Regions from separate parts of the Homo sapiens genome. Here region 2 is linked to region 1. Evidence: promoter capture Hi-C in 16 types of primary human blood cells and fetal thymus (Javierre and others, 2016). All regions are on one chromosome and are shown on one strand. The core of a region is centred on a gene start or on the middle of the fragment in contact, and the rest is flanking DNA. Distances in the headings are between cores, read along the strand shown.

Region 1 (5,189 bases), core at 1,677-4,176:
GTGTTCCTGGATCCCAAAACCAAAGTTTCCAGTATCTGAGAAGTTGTTTTTTCTTAACTCATACTCCCGCACCTGTGGAGAAAAATGCAGCAATAACATTCCTTGTCATCTTCAACTCCCTCCCACCCCCAAGTAACTATTAATAGCTCAGCCTGCAACATGCACCCCAGAGCAAACAGAAGTCAATGAAACTTGGCTGAGAACACAACCTGACTTCCTCACTATACCTCGACTATAGATTCACACCCCAACTACCCAGTATGACCTCTCCCAGCTTCCAAAGAGCAGAGAAAAACCCAGAGAAAGCAGAGGCATGAAATGACTCCCAAGCATCCTTTTTCTTTTTTTTTTTTGAGACAAGAGTCTCACTCTGTGGCCTAAGCTGGAGTGCAGTGGCACAATATCAGCTCACTGCAACCTCTACCTCCCAGGTTCTAGCAATTGTCGTGCCTCAGCTTCCCGAGTAGCTGGGACTACAGGAGCCCGCCACCAAGCCCGGCTAATTTTTATCTTTTTTTAGTAGAGATGGTGTTTCACCATGTTGGCCAGGATGGTCTCGAACTCCTGGCCACAAATGATCCAACCGCCTTGGCCTCCCAAAGTGTTGGGATTACAGGCGTTGAGCCACCGTGCCCAGCCTCAAGCATCTTTTAAACCACCAAGAACAGTTTAACCCTGCTGATTGTAGAAAAAGCCTTTTAGAAGCTTAAGTAAATAAATATCAAGACACCAAAGAACAGAACATTAAATGTAACTTATCTACATGTGTTACTAAAGGAGTGCTGATCAATATCACTCCATTAGGGGATTAGGCTCACCTTTAGACCCTTCTCCAAGATTTCTTCTGCCTTGGCCCCTCGAACTGTGCAGTGGACAGCAATCTTTTCATTTCTCCGGATGCCAAAGGATCTGACAGTGTATCTAGCTGCAGGAAGTGGGTAACAAGGAGTCAGATGCCATCATACCCCCACTACACTCACCTCTTTCCCAGAACACCATCTCCATGACTTAAAGAGACATTAAGCATTCATCCACACTCTTTTAAGTTGTGGTGTTCTAATTAGTGTCTCCCACATCTATTAATAAGATTTCATCCACAGCACAGATTTTCCCATTTCCAGACATCCAGCCATCCTTCAGCAGTTAAGAACAGTCATAACGCCGAAGTTCCAGGAAGGGCAAGGTCACAACCAGAATAGGCCGAAGAAGCCACTAGTAAGATTATCATGTTCCAAAGAAAACAAAGCATTATTGACAACATCTACTATTTGCTGAAACCTTATTGTACTGTTATCCATATTTTACAGGTGAGGTTTTGAGAGGTTTATTAACTTGCCAAACATCACAGCTGGTAACAAAAAGCAGGAGTGGAATCCAAAGACTTGCCATATTTCACTGTCCTAAAGCAACTACACATGTACAACTCATTTTATCTTCCACAATTATAAAGTATTACCCTCTTTATGCAAAGAAAAAAGCAGAGGTCCAGAGAGCCCAGAGTCAGACCAGCAAATGGTGAAGCCATCACTCAAACCCAGGCAATCTGTATACAACTTTTGAGATAGGGTCAACCAGGCTGGAGTGCAGTGGCACTAATATAGGCCACTGAAGCCTCATGCTCCCGTACAGCCCTGTTCTTAATGCAGCCTATATAACCCTAACTGCTAATCAGATCTAATGATCTTTACTTCGTTCCTGACATTTCCACTCTATCTCATATCCTAGTTACTTAGGAAAATCTTTACTTGGGCTAGTCTTAGCTTAAGATCTGCTCAAATAAAATCTAGTGTTCCAATCCCACACGCCATCTTGAATAAAAAAAAAAAAAAAAGACACCTCTTGGCCGGCTCATGAATTTAATGCTTTAAGTGATGCCGACTGTCACTTTCTAAACAGACTCGACAGCAGGTAAATCAAGAAACAACCAAGCGACCCAAGCAGGCAAACCCTGTATGTCCTTGTGACTACTCACCTTTGGAAAACACAGGGGTCTGCCCTGTGAGCTGCTCCAACACCTTGGCTGCTCGCGTCAGTCTGTCTCCACTCTCCCCAACACAGATGTTGAGACAGAGTTTGCGGATGCGAAGTTCCCGCATGGGGTTCTCCTTTTCACCTTGATCCTGCTGCAACAGGGAAGAGCAGCAGTCAATACACTCACAGCTGAGGGCCCTGAGTTTTACTACTTTCTATCTGCACAGCATTTTTATTTCTGCTCATCCCAAATCGTAACGAAGACCCTGAATGTTTAAAAGGTATAATGTTTAGGGGACATCAAGGGAAGAAGACAGCTCGGAACCTATCCTTCCTCCACGAACGGAACGGGTGAAGAGAAAACTCAGGACAGTTATTGAGTGTTAAAAGATACGGACACTGAGATCGAACCCTAAGAGGCTCAGGGTAACAAAGAGCGCCCCCATTGTAAGGCCAACTAAGGGGAGTGAGCGAAGAAACAGAACTTAATTGCTCAGTTAACAGGAAACACGTGGTTATGCGACGTCCAGCATCCTATTCGGAAGCTGTCTAAAGGCTGGCACCTTCCCTAAGCGGAGCAACCGACTAAGGTTTCCTAGCACCGAGCAAGTCTCAAGTCCCCGGGACCAGGAAAAGGCCCGGACCCCCCTGCCTCAGAACCCTCCATTCACCCCATCTGCCCCCGCTGCAGCCTCCTGACCGTGCTTCTGAGCACTCCGGGCAAGTGCCCGGAGCCGCTCCTAAAACGATGGCAGGGAAAGTGACAGAATTCAACCCTGCGTCCTTGGCTCGAACGGCTCTGCTAGTTTTGGGCCAGCAGGCATTGCGGGCTCCATATTCCTCGGGCTGCGGGCGAAGTAGCCCCCGCAGGCTCGGCCTGCCATGGATGGCGACGGATAAAGGAAAGCAAATCCAGGTCCCAGCTACTCACCGCCATGATGGAGAGCAGGAAGAGAAAGCGGAGCTTCCGGCCGAGGGCCTTATGGGCCAGGAGGCGGGCTCTTTTCCCAGGCTAACCACAGAGATGAAGACGAGGAAGAGAGGCGCATTTGGCAAAGCCCTGCAGCGTCGGCTTCTCCCTTGTGGGTAGTGCTAGCCACTGCAGGCGACGCTGGCTGAAGACCGGGATCTGGGTTTTCCAAAAATAGTTTTTGAAAGCTCCCGAATCAGCACGTCCTTGAGTTTCCGGACCTTGAGGACGTTCTCTCCTCCCAGTGTCACGAGCTGGTGGTCCTTGTGTGATGAGAACGCCAAAACTACATTAAATCAATCATGCAAATTATGACGCAAATTTATTCTGTAACAACGTAAACAAATATAATTTATTTATTTATTTATTTTTTGAGACGGAGCCTCGCTGTGTCACCCAGGTTGAAGTGCAGTGGCGCGATATCGGCTCACTGCAACCTCCGCCTCCCGGGTTCAAGCGATTCTCCTGCCTCAGCCTCCCAAGTAGCTGGGATTACAGGCACGCACCACCATACCGGTCTAATTTGTTTGTATTTTTAGTAGAGATGGGGTTTCACCATGTTGGTCGGGCTGGTATGGAACTCCTGACCTCAAATGATCCACCCGCCTTGGCCTCCCAAAGTGCTGGGATTACAGGCGTGAGCCACCACTCCGGGCACAAATAGAATTTATACAAACGGAAAGGAGTGGTGGTTTAAGAGTCCCGAGCTTGAAGACAGGCAGATGTGGTCCTGTCTCGACCAGCTAGTAGCTATGTGACCTTGGGCAAGTTACTACAGGGTGCGTATTCCTAACCTGAAAAGCCTGGGACCAGACGGTTTTTAGATTTGGGATTTTTCCGGATTATGGAATATTCGCATAAACATAATGAGATATCTTGGGGATGGAACCCAAGTCTGAATATGAAATTAATTTATGTTCCATATACACCTTATACACATAGTCTGAAGGTAATTTTATACAATATTTTAAGTAAGTTTGTGCATGAAACAAAGTTTGTGTACATTGAACCATCAGAAAGCAAAGGTGTCACTATCTCAGCCACCCTTGTGGACAATCTCTGGTTGGTTGGCCTAACCATTTTTCCAGACTGTAAATGTATATGCTATTGATAAGCAATACTTTCTTACGCTTATTCACATATAAGTACTTAACAGCGGCCGGGCGCGGTGGCTCACGCCTGTAATCCCAGCACTTTGGGAGACCGAGACGGGCGGATCGCGAGGTCAGGAAATCGAGACCATCCTGGCTAACACGGTGAAACTCCGTCTCTACTAAAAATACAAAAAAAAAAAAAAAAAAAAATTAGCCGGGCGTGGTGGCGGGCGCCTGTAGTCCCAGCTACTCTGGAGGCTGAGGCAGGAGAATGGCGTGAACCTGGGAGGCGGAGCTTTCAGTGAGCCGAGGTCGCGCCACTGCACTCCAGCCTGGGTGACAGAGCGAGACTCCGTCTCAAAAATAAAAAATAAGTTCTTAACAGCAAAATATATGCTATGTCATTAATACAGTGAAAAAGTAATGTGTTCAGGGCAACTAAGCAGCAGAGGAGCATCACCAGAAAACCTGGATCAGCTGTGAAACAACAGCGACCCACCCCCCCTCCCCCCACCACCACACCCGACCCCGGCCCCGCCAACCAGGCCAGGTGCTGTGGCTCACACTTGTAATCCCAGCGCTTTGGGAGGCTAAGGCGGGTGGATCACTTAAGGTCAGGAGTTCGAGACCAGCCTGGCCAACGGGGTGAAACCCCGTCTCTACTAAAAATACAAAAATTAACCGGGCCTGGTGGTGCATGCCTGTAATCCGAGCTACTCGGAAGGCTGAGGCAGGAGAATCGCTTGAACCGAGGAGAAGAAGCTTGCAGTGAGCCAAGATCACACCACTGCACTCCAGCCTGGGTGATAGAGCAAGACCCTGTCTCAAAACAAACAAACGAACAAACAAAAAACAGCGACCACAAGTGGCAGGCTTTCAGTCTCCACCTATGATGCAGTGTTTTGATTAAAAGATTACTGTACAATGTATTTTTTTTTTTAATTTTTATTGATCATTCTTGGATGTTTCTCGCAGAGGGGGATTTGGCAGGGTCATAGGACAATAGTGGAGGGAAGGTCGGCAGATAAACAAGTGAACAAAGGTCTCTGGTTTTCCTAGGCAGAGGACCCTGCGGCCTTCCGCAGTGTTTGTGTCCCTGGGTACTTGAGATTAGGGAGTGGTGATGATTCTTAACGAGCATGCTGCCTTCAAGC
Region 2 (5,189 bases), core at 1,020-3,519, 220 kb before region 1:
GGAGTTCAAGACCAGCATGGTCAACATGGCAAAACCCTGTCTCTACTAAAACTACAAATTAGCTGGAGGTGGTTGTGTGCACCTGTAGTCCCAGCTACTCAGGAGGCTGAGGCAGGAGAGTTGCTTGAACCCAGGAGGCAGAGGTTGCAGTGAACCGAGATTGCGCCATTGCACTCCAGCCTGGGCAATAGAGCGAGACTTGGTCTCAAAACAAAAACAAACAAACAAAAAACAAAACACACACACACACACACACACAGGAAGCTATCACATAAGTCAAGATTTCTGGTATCTCTTGAAAAATACAGCACAACTTCCAAATGCTTGGAATATCTGACAATTTGCCTATACTCCCAAGCAGAAAAGCTTGGCTGGAACTAAGAGGTACCTGCCCCTCTCTACTGGCCCAGATCAGGGTCTGGGGTGTGGGGCAGATACCTCTCAGCTGGGCCAGTAGAGAGGGTCAGGTACCTCTCAGCTCCAGCCAAGCTTTTCCACTTGGGTCCTGTGTTCCCCCTATTACCCACAGTCCCTACCACTCCCTATTGCCCCACACCAGGATCCATCACCCATTATGTTAATCTGCCTGTAGGCATTTGCATTTCAAAGCTCTGGCCTAGTGGTGAAGAGGCATTGGAATGGCATGTCCTTTTAGGTGATCTACTGTAATGTTGGTGCATTATCCCCATTTTACAGATAAAGAAACTTGCCTTTGGGGAAGTTAAGTGAATCAACATTTTAACGAGGCTGTATTAGAACCCAAGTCCCTTGACTCCAGGGTCTAGGCCCATGCCCCACCCTGGCCAGAGTTCGTTGTAAGAGATAACTCAACCGCAGGGGCAAGAGCATTGTGGCACCAGGGACCTGGAGGGGAAGTGGTAACAGGCACGGAAGGCCAGACCTCCTCACACTCACTCATCTGTGAGAAAGTACAAAAGCAAGAGAAAGCTGGCTTGGGGTGGCACTCAACAGGTGCTCTGAGTGGCACCCACGGCCAGGTCCTGGGAGAGGACAGAAAACAACTGGGACTCCTCAGCCCCCGGCAGCTCCCAGTGCCCAGCCACCCACAACACAACCGTGAGTAGCTTTTTTTGTTGTTTATTTTAGGCTTCTTCCTCATTCCCCAACACCTGTATTCTTTTTTGTTTGTTTGTTTGTTTTTGAGACGGAGTTTTGCTCTGTTGACCAGGCTAAAGTACAGTGGCACAATCTCGGCTCAGTGCAGCCTCACAGGTTCAAGCGATTCTCCTGCCTCAGCCTCCCGTGTAGTTGGGATTACAGGTGTGCACTACTGCGTCTGGCTAATTTTTGTATTTTTAGTAGAGACAGGGTTTCACCATGTTGGCCAGGCTGGTCTCGAACTCCCGACTTCAGGTGATCTGCCCACCTTGGCCTCCCAAAGTGCTGGGATTACAGGCATGAGCCACTGCACCTGGCCAAAACCTGTATTCTTACCTTATCCCTTCCCTCCAGGGACACAAGAAGCCAGGTGGGCCTGTCTGGGGCAGGGGATAGATGTCATTTCAGGACACCTGGGGTTGTGGAGGACCAGTCGCAGGAAAGTTCAGGGCTGGCATCCCCCTCCTAGGACCAAGAATCAGGACTTTGGCTTTCATTTCATTACAGAGACAAGAATCACACACACAGAGATGGCCTTACTGTGTGCCAGGCGCTGCCCTAAGAGCCTTTAGTGGTTGGATTTATTTAATCCTCACAACAGCCGTATGCAGTAGGAGCTATCACTGTTGTCCACTTGATAGGTGGGGGCTAGGTGACCCACCTGAAATCATGCGGGCATTGAATGAGAGCATTGGCTTGAGCCTAGGCACTCCGGCTTCGCGGCCCACCCTTCAGCCACCAGGCTATCCTGCCTTACGAGGTGTGGACTGCAACAGTAGATGGGGGCCAGGAAATGACAGGGGCTGGCAGAGGCCTTTGAGATGACCAGGTGAGTCCTGCGCTCTCATTTTATAGATGGGGAGACCACAAGGTAGTGTTAGGGGCACACTGGACTCAGGAGGCCAGGGGTCTGCTTTGGTGTAAGTTCCACTCAGCGGAGGGAAGAGCAGTATTTTCCAGTGTGCCCTGGGGTCAGCGTCCAGGTCTGAATCCCAGCTCTGCCACTGGTAGCTCGATGGCCTAATGCAAATCACTCCATTTCTTTCCTGCTCAGCTTCCTCTTCTGAGAAACATGGGCCTGAGAAGGTCACTCACAGGCTTGTTGCGAGTCAACTGTCTGATGCGGGCACAGGGCGGGCAGCAGCACAGGGCTCGGGAATGGCTGTGGTGGAGAGTTTGATCTTCACCCCATCTGCTCTTGCTGTGGATCTGAGATGAGGATAAAATGAGGCCTGGCTGCTTTTCCCTGGAATGAGTGGCAAGTAGACACGTTGGCAGCATGAAAACCAGGATGGAGGCTGGGGAGAAGTTCAGGGAGAGCTCAGGAGGTGGAGTCCCAATAATCCTGGCCCCAGCTCTGTAACCACCTTGTGGCTTACCAGAGTGACCCCCTAACCTGCGCTGGGCAGGTGAAGCATATCCTTTACCCTTTGGCCGGCTAAGGCCAGGATAAGGCAGTGAAGACGGGAAAATGGCAGCCTGGCTCAGCCAAGCAGAGCCCTCCAGCGCCAGCCCCCTCTCTTCCCACCTCATTTTACAGTACCAGTCACTCTTACTGCACACCCTCGGGTGTGCATAAATTGATCTTTTCTTTATTCAGTTGAAGTCACATTCAATAGGACCCTGAGCCTCATCCTACTGGGCTAGGAGGAAATTTAATCTCCAAGTGCACTGAGCTTCCCTCACTCCCATCCCCACCCATGCACATTGACCCAGAGGACACACAGAACATAAGCGTGAGGGAGGCTCCTGGGTCCTCCTACGATGGATGCCCATTGCCCAAATGGACTTGATTGTCTGAAGTCCAGCCTTGCCCACTTCCCTGGCATGCCTGGAGTCCAGATTCTTTGTAAGACCTGAAACCACTGTGTCTCATTTTGACATCCAGGATATATCACCCAGTGACTTCCCCCAGAGGTCCTGCCATCTTCCCAGAAAGCAAATTCTAGGTGCCCAAGACCTCGGTCCCCTCCCAGCCAAGGACAATCTCTCCTCTCCCCTTGGCTGTGGATGGCAGATGGACACTCTTCTCTCCCCACCCCCCACCCACGTGACCTAACCTTCTCACTGCGCTCAGGTTCTCAGGAAAGGACAGGAAGAAGGGTTGTCTTCAAATAGCTTCTGCTTCCTACTCTCACCCCTGAAAAAAGTCCCCGAGCCACGAGACACAAAGGGCACTCTGAAAAGAGACAGGCAGCCCTATCTTACAGATGAGAAAAACCAAGACTCAGCAGCAGTGTTGACTTGCTCAGTGTCACACAGCCAAGGAATAGCGGAGCCAGTGTGAGCAGAGAGTCCTGCGCTGTGGGTTCAGAGCTTGTGCTATCAATCACATGGAATCACATGGAAACCCAAGTCTCCCTCATCAATTACTCAGGCAACCTGGGGCAAGTTACATCACCTTTCTGAACCTCAGTTTCTTCAACTCTAAAAATGACGCTATCATAGCATTCCCAACCTGCCTCAAAGGGGCTCTTGTTTTTTGTTTTTTGTTTTTTTGTTTTGTTTTCTTTTCTTTTCTTTCTTTTTTTTTTTTTTTTTTTTTTTTTGAGACAGCGTTTTGCTCTTGTTGCCCAGGCTGGAGTATAATGGCGTAATCTCAGCTCATTGCAACCTCTGCCTCCTGGGTTCAAGCGATTCTCCTGCCTCAGCCTCCCAAGTAGCTGGGATGACAGGCATGCACCACCACGCCCGGCTAATTTTGTATTTTTAGTAGGGATGGGGTTTCTGCATGTTGGCCAGGCTGGTCTCGAGCTCCCGATCTCAGGTGATCCGCTCTTGTTTTTTTCTTAAGCGAAGATTGATGAAGCATTTACTACACATTTGAGCTCTGTGACCGTTCCTCATTAAGTCCTCACCACAGCCTAGGAGGGGGCTGCTATCACTAACCACATTTGCAAGGTGAGAAACTGAAGCTCACACAAGCTTAAGACTTATCCAAGGGGCCGGGCATGGTGGCTCATACCTGTAAGCTTGGCACTTTGGGAGGCCCAGGCAGGAGGATAGCTTGAGCTCAGCACTTCAAGACCAGTCTAGGAAACATAGTGAGACCCTATCTCTACAAAAAAAAAAAAAAAAAAATTAAAAATTAGCCAGGCATGGTGGCACATGCCTGTGGTCCCAGCTACTCAGGGGGCTGAGGTGGAAGGATTGTTTAAGCCTGGGAGATTGAGGCTGCAGTGAGCTATTATTGCCTGGGTAACTGAGCAAGATACTGTTTCAAAAAAAAAAAAAAGAAGGAGAGAGACTTGTCCACAGTCCCATAACTGGTGGTAATGGCAAAGCTGAGACTCAAGTCCAGGTCAATCTGGATCCAGAACCAAGCCATATTGTGGTGGGAATCAAAATAGGAGAACGGGAGTGGAAATGCCTCTAGGTATGGAGATGCAGGGCAGGCTCGGGGACTCATGATCAGGGTTGTCTTTACTGTGTCGCTCGCCAGGCTGCGTTTCAGATGCCATCACATGGACAACCCGAGAACCTGCGCTGGGGAGGAAATTGGAGGGATATCATATGAATATGGCCGGCTTCTCTCCTCCCACCCCAAACTGAGCAGTCCAATCCAGTCTTGTGAGGTGTCTACTCTGTGCCAAGACCCTGAGGCTCTAGCCCTTGGCCCAGGTGACTTCCTGTTTCCATGATGATCTCTGACAGACCTTCCCTGACTGTGCTTAGGCATTATCTTATGTAATCCTCACCTCGGTCCTGTAAAGGCAATTCTCTTTCTCTCCCCAAGCTATAAATGAGGACACTGAAGTCTCGGGAGAGGGCAGAGTGGGAACCCACGCACAGCCAAGGCTCTCGGTCCCCAGCTATGCTGCAGGGACCACCAGAAGAGTAAGATCAGGTCTCAGCCTTCTTCCAGCAGAACCCAGAACAGTGTAAAACTGTTCTCTTTTCCCTCCATCTCCTGGGGAGAGAAAGGATGTACTCAGTCCTCACGCCATGCAGCAAAGACCTCAAATGCCAAGGAGAGAAAATGACAGACAAGGCCAGATTAATGGGGGAGGAACTGCATAGTGGAGTTAGGGCCAAGCAGGGAGGGAAGGATTCCCCAGCAGGCGAGGGAG

Evidence for each region. The method cuts DNA at HindIII sites, captures the fragments that hold promoters and counts their contacts. A CHiCAGO score of 5 or more calls a contact.
Region 2: a contact is called between a fragment that was not itself captured here and the fragment with the promoter of RPL11 in region 1, in 1 of 17 cell types (naive B cells). The highest score is 5.1, in naive B cells.

Annotation. Positions count from the first base shown.
Region 1 is chr1:23,689,543-23,694,731 of GRCh38, reverse strand. It overlaps RPL11 (ribosomal protein L11), which reads right to left and starts at 2,926. Exons shown (of 6, transcript NM_000975.5): 1 at 2,903-2,926; 2 at 1,973-2,123; 3 at 819-925; 4 at 1-72. The coding sequence starts at 2,908. RefSeq lists an enhancer at 2,645-2,964. The HindIII fragment of the contact is 4,092 bases long and covers 708-4,799 here.
Region 2 is chr1:23,909,134-23,914,322 of GRCh38, reverse strand. It overlaps CNR2 (cannabinoid receptor 2), which reads left to right and starts at 961. Exons shown (of 2, transcript NM_001841.3): 1 at 961-1,077. RefSeq lists enhancers at 635-1,149, 1,923-2,092 and a silencer at 4,063-4,112. The HindIII fragment of the contact is 3,555 bases long and covers 492-4,046 here.